Regions from separate parts of the Homo sapiens genome. Here region 2 is linked to region 1. Evidence: promoter capture Hi-C in 16 types of primary human blood cells and fetal thymus (Javierre and others, 2016). All regions are on one chromosome and are shown on one strand. Each heading gives the region's core, a stretch centred on a gene start or on the middle of the fragment in contact. The rest is flanking DNA. Distances are from core to core; before and after follow the strand shown.

Evidence for each region. Contacts are between HindIII fragments. The CHiCAGO score rates a contact against its expected background, and 5 or more counts as called.
Region 2: a contact is called between the fragment with the promoter of ZNF487 here and the fragment with the promoter of ZNF33B in region 1, in 3 of 17 cell types (total B cells, total CD8 T cells and fetal thymus). The highest score is 6.1, in total B cells.

Annotation. Positions count from the first base shown.
Region 1 is chr10:42,637,201-42,640,015 of GRCh38, reverse strand. It overlaps ZNF33B (zinc finger protein 33B), which reads left to right and starts at 1,446. Exons shown (of 5, transcript NM_006955.3): 1 at 1,446-1,542. LOC105378268 (a long non-coding RNA gene) reads right to left here and starts at 1,711. Exons shown (of 2, transcript XR_945898.3): 1 at 1,463-1,711. RefSeq lists a silencer at 1,527-1,696 and enhancers at 1,887-2,156, 1,816-2,684. The HindIII fragment of the contact is 7,213 bases long and covers 711-2,815 here.
Region 2 is chr10:43,435,857-43,438,576 of GRCh38, reverse strand. It overlaps ZNF487 (zinc finger protein 487), which reads right to left and starts at 1,466. Exons shown (of 4, transcript NM_001355444.3): 1 at 1,315-1,466. RefSeq lists a silencer at 1,182-1,841 and an enhancer at 1,942-2,011. The HindIII fragment of the contact is 37,036 bases long and covers 1-2,720 here.

The DNA.
Region 1 (2,815 bases), core at 197-2,696:
TTCTTTCAATTCTCATAATGGACTTAAAAAGTTTTGCTGGAATGGAGCTGCTTATTTTTCTCTATTATAAAATGTAACTGATATTAAATTTATAGTTTCTGTCTTTGGTATCACATCCCTTTTTGGTTTTTTTTGAGACAAAGTCTCACTTTGTCACCCAGGCTGGAGTGCAGTGGTGCCATGATGGCTTACTGCAACCTGGGGCTCAAGTGATCGTCCAACCTCAGCCTCCTGAGTAGCTGGGATCACAGGCGCCTGCCTACATGCCCAGCTAATTGTTATTTTTAATTTTTTGTAGAGACAGGGGTCCCACTATAACGCCCAGGCTGGTCTTGGACTCTAAGGATCAAGTGGTCCTCCTGCCTCCACCTCCCAAACTGCTGGGATTACAGGTGTGGGCCACTGTGCCTGGCCCACATGTCAATTTTCAAAAATTTATACTCGTTTAAATGTTTCAATACTGTATACATGTGAATTTTATCACGTGTGATCTATATATATCTCTATATTCCAAATTGTTAGGAATGACATGCTCTTTGGAATACTCCATTCTTTCCCTCACTGTTTTGAAATGCTGTATTTACTACACATTAAAGAATACTCTCAATCATGGTGTCTTATTTCCATGGAGCAGGTGCCAAACTACTTTGAATAGAGCAATATTATATATATAGATAGATATAGATATTTCTCAGGCATTTTTTCAAGCTTTTTAAAACGTATAATGGCTGTTCATTTAGTTTTTTACTTACTCTGGATAAAGTTGACAATGCTTTTGTAAAGTACACAATACACTAAAGATCAAAGAGAAAAAATACATAAAAAAATTTGTTGATATTCTTTTAGGAATTTTGTCTTCCTAAGAAAGGTACAGATAGACTAAATGTATTTCCATTTAGTCAAGCAATTTTAATGTCACAGGGGAAATCATGTGACATTTATTTTCTTCTTTCGGATTATGTCTATTTTCTGACTTTTCAATTTCCGTTTATTGCGTTAACGATTTTGATGAAGTAGCTTTCCTGTGGCACCTCCCCCATCCCCCCCATCCCTGCTCTCAAAGAATCGCTGATAGTGTCAAAGTCTTTTAAACTGTATCAATAAGATCTACTTCCTAACATTTAAAGTGAAACTGACACACAGCTGTCCTTTCCTTGAGGCGTCTGTGTCTAACCTGCACACTTGCTGCACACAGACCTCCCCTGCAGTGCATCCCTTTGGGTCGCCCCGGGAGAGCCAGGGCTGCGGGCAGTTCCCACACCAACTCAGACCGCATCTGTCCACTGCCTAGCGGGGCACCTCTCTGCCAATCCCGAAGGGCTGCTCTCGCGTCCTCACGGGAAAGGTAGTTTCCAGGTTGGGCGCCAACAGCGCCAGGCTTTGAGCGTGGGCTCTGCGCATGCCTCATCCACTGGCTACCTCTGCGTTTCTGCGTTTCCGCCTTTCCTTTTGTTTGTCTCACGTTTTGCGTGGGAGGCGGTCCCGGGATTTCAGGGGTCTACCGGCTCTCTTATGGCGAATGCAACCCGAAGAGAGAGTGAGGTAAGCCTCCGCGGGTTGGGCAGGGACGGAGAGGGGGCCCCGCGCGACTCCAGGAGCAGGCAGCCGGGGGCCAGTGCCAGGTGGTGGCGAGGAGTCCCGGGGACCTCACGGAGAAGCCGGGGACGGCGGGGCTGCAGCATGTCTACCAGGACGCTACGCCAGTTCCTCTAAGGCGCAGCCTCTGTAGGGAGCGGGCTACGCCCTGTGCGTTGCCCTGTTTGTAGGGGCCGCGGAGGAGGGCATGTGCGCTTGCGCGGTCCGAGCGCTGAGCCTTGCGGGAGGGGCAGTTCTCTGGTTGAGCGTGTTTACGCCCATGTGCTAGGGCGCGGCCCTACCTGGGTAGGAAAGGGCGGGTGCAGTCGCCCGCCCGACATACGGACTCTGTTGCCCGTTCTGCGTTCATCCTCTTTAGGTTTCGAACTGCCCTCCAGTCATGTCCATCACCCCATCTTGTTATTTGCTGTTCCTCTGTCCTAACTTGATCTTGCACTCAGGAAGGATCTTCAAGAATTACATAATTTTGGCCTAGCGCGGTGGCTCTCTCCTGTAATCCTGCACTTTGGGAGGCCGAGGAGGGTGGATCACCTGAGGTCAGGAATTCGAGACCAGCCTGACCAACATGGCAAATCCCCGTCTCTACTAAAAATACTAAAAGTAGCCATGCGTGGTGGCCTATGACTGTAATCCCAGCTACTGAGGCAGAGAAATGCTTGAACCCGGGAGGCGGAGGTTGCAGGTAGCTGAGATTGCACCATTGCACTCCAGACTGGGCAACAAGAACGAAACTCCGTCTCAAAAACAAACAAACAAACAAAAAACCAGAATTACCTAATTTTGCCTCATTTGTTAGAAGAAAAAATAATTTTTTTGTTTTTTGTTTGTCAAGGTTACTGACTTGTTCAGGATCAAAGTTTGTTAGTAGGGAGAACTAAAAGTCACTTCTCCTGACCCCTAAGCCAGTACTACTTTTCTACACACATCAAAGCAAGTTTAAAACATCCTTTTGAGAAATAGCAACAAAGTTAGATGAAGAAATTAAAACGGATTTTTTCTTTGAAGCACTGACGCTTATGGTTTTCTGTGGACTAACTCATCAGAGGTTAAGTAACATTACTGGGAAAATCGATAGCCTAGTCCTATTCTTTACAATGGTTTTAGTGTTAATGTTTTTTCATTAAATGTATTGTTAACTTGTTTGGCCAATATTGTCATTATACATTTTTTGTGAAGACTGAGGGAGATTGAAATCCTTAGGAAGCAAATATTTACTTTC
Region 2 (2,720 bases), core at 217-2,716, 800 kb before region 1:
TTGAGGGAACTGCCATACTGTTTTCCATAGCTGCTGTACCATTTTACATTCTTACCAACAATACACAAGGGTATATTTCTTAATATATGGGGGCTGGGTGCAGTGGCTCACGCCTGTAATCCCAGCACTTTGGGGGGCTGAGGCAGGTGGATCACCTGAGGTCAATAATTCGAGACCAGCCTGGCCAACAAGGCAAAACCCTGTCTCTACTAAAAATACAAAAATTAGCCGGGTGTGGTGGCACGTGCCTGTAACCCTCGTCACTTGGGAGGCTGAGGCAGGAGAATTGCTTGAAGCCAGGAGGTGGAGGTTTCAGTGAGCCAAAATCACGCCACTGCACTCCAGCCTGGGCGACAGAGGGAGACTCCACCTCAAAATATATATATATATGGAACCTAAGACAAAAGCCTGCACTCACCCCTAATCTGCTAAATTCAAGTTCTCTCCATGATGAGGTTTCAAAAGGAATTAGTGCAAAATGTATTTAAGGATATGACCAGAAAGGAGAAAGAAAAAACAAATGGCTATTACACACACAGCAGAAAAGTAACACTAGGAGGCAAAGGAACTCAATGAAGAAATATTTCGGTGGCAGGCGGTGGTTCAGCCTGTAATCCCCGCACTTTGGAAAGCTAAAGCAGGAGAATCACTTGAGCCCAGGAGTTCAAGACCAGCCTGAGCAACATAGTGATACCCCTGTTTCTATTTATAAATAAATAAATAAATAAATATTTCCAACCAAAGAATACAAACTTAGTAAAGCTAATGAAGGAAGAACACAGTGAAGAGCTGCCGATGTAAGAGAAAAAAAGAAAATTTCCGGAGGAAAAAAGTTCAAAGATTTGCAACTATTTCCTCAGAAGGAACTGGGAAAAGGGAGTTTTGAGTAATAAGGCCTTGTGCAAGTTTCTGACTCTTAAGGATGTGAATGTACTGCCTTAAAAAATAAACTAAAAAGAGCCTCTTTTCTCACCACAACTCAACAATCATGAAGGTATCCTTGCAAGTGTGTGTAGACCTCTCATGCCTCCTAGGTCCAGGGTCACTCGTCCAGGACTCTCCCAATATCCCTGCCCAGAGGAAGCGCTTCCTCAGACTCGGTTCCTTCTGGTTGCCCTTGTCTCGCTTCTCTAGGGTGGGCTGGCCGCTCCCGCACTGGGGTCAAAGATCCTCCGGGTTCTCTCTGCCACGACTCGCCCTGATCCCAAATCCCAGCCCCACGGTCCCCACCCCCAGCGGGCCCAGTCCCCGCTCGATCCTGGGTGTGCGGCCCTCGACCTCAGACCCGGCCCCTGCCCGCCGGCCGCCCCTCACCTCGGCCTCGGAGGCTCCACGCTCCCCCTCTCACAGCCCGCACCTCGGCGGTCTCTCGGAGGAGGGAGGAACCCGAGGTACCTGGTAGTCGTAGCTGAGGAACTTACAGGCTTGTTGACCATCTCACCATGGAAACTGCCGCAGCGCTCCCTGGGCGGGGCCGCCGAGGGGCGGGGCCTGCGCGAATCCCGGGCGCCCGCCAGTCCAGCGCTCCCTGCGCTTCCGGAAGCCTTGCTGCTCCCGCGTGCCTAGCGGGGGCTCGGCCCTATGCCACGGGCATCCCACCCTGCTACCAGCTGCCCTCTTGTCCGCTGGCCGGACTCTTACCCCAGCCTTCTTCAGGAAGACACGGCGCAGTCCGGCTTCCCCACGAAAGCGAAGGTCGCTGGGACCGCGGCTGGGCGTCCGGGGGCGGGGCCGCGACGCCATTGTGACGCGCTCGGAGCAGGGCTGGGCCGAGGACCCCGGGCGCTGGAGGGCAGGCCCTAGCCACTGCTCCTGAGGCCCTGGAGGCAGCTGACGCTTGAGGCCGCTGGGCGCCGCAACGTGAGCCCAAAGGACGCCCCGCTTCAAGACTGGCGCAAGAGGAAAAAATGAAGGTCGTTTTCTGCGGAGGATGTTAGGAGAACGAGAACTGCGGGCCAGAGAACTGACCTAGCTTAAGGAGCGCAGGCAGCCTCTGCCGCCGGCTCTTGGGGAGACACGGAGAGGATGGGGTCCCCGCTCCGCATCAGGTCCTCTGACGCACCCCGGCTTTCCAGGAGGTAGGACTGGCCACAGGCCTCCTTCCCAGGGACAAAGTGCAAAGCAGAGGCTGTCAGCAGCGTGACCTTCGCTGCAGGAGAAATACGCGTCCAGTTCGTTTTCGTCAGAGTTCTGCTACATCAGGCCTGCCGTATTTGCTGTACACAAATCAGCCAACTTCCCAGGCCTGGGTGCGGAGGTATTTGTTAAGCACATGCACACAGTTGGAATTAGCAGCCTCAGGGATCAAAAGTTGTCCTTTTTTTTTTTTTTTTTTTTGGAGACGAAGTTTCGCTCTTGTTGCCCAGGCTGGAGTGCAGTGGCGCGATCTTGGCTCACTGCAACCTCCGCCTCCCGAGTTCAAGTGATTCTCCTACCTCAGGCTCCCGAGTAGCTGGGATTACAGTCGTCCGCCACCACGCCCGGTTAATTTTTTTTGTTTTTAGTAGAGATGGGGTTTCACCATTTTGGCCAGGCTGGTGTCGAACTCTTTTTTTTTTTTTTTTTTTTTTTTTTTGAGACGGAGTCTCGCTCTGTCACCCAGGGTGGAGTGCAGTGGCGCGATCTCAGCTCACTGCAAGCTCCGCCTCCCAGGGTCACGCCATTGTCTTGCCTCAGCCTCCCGAGTAGCTGGGACTACAGGCGCCCGCCACCACGCCCGG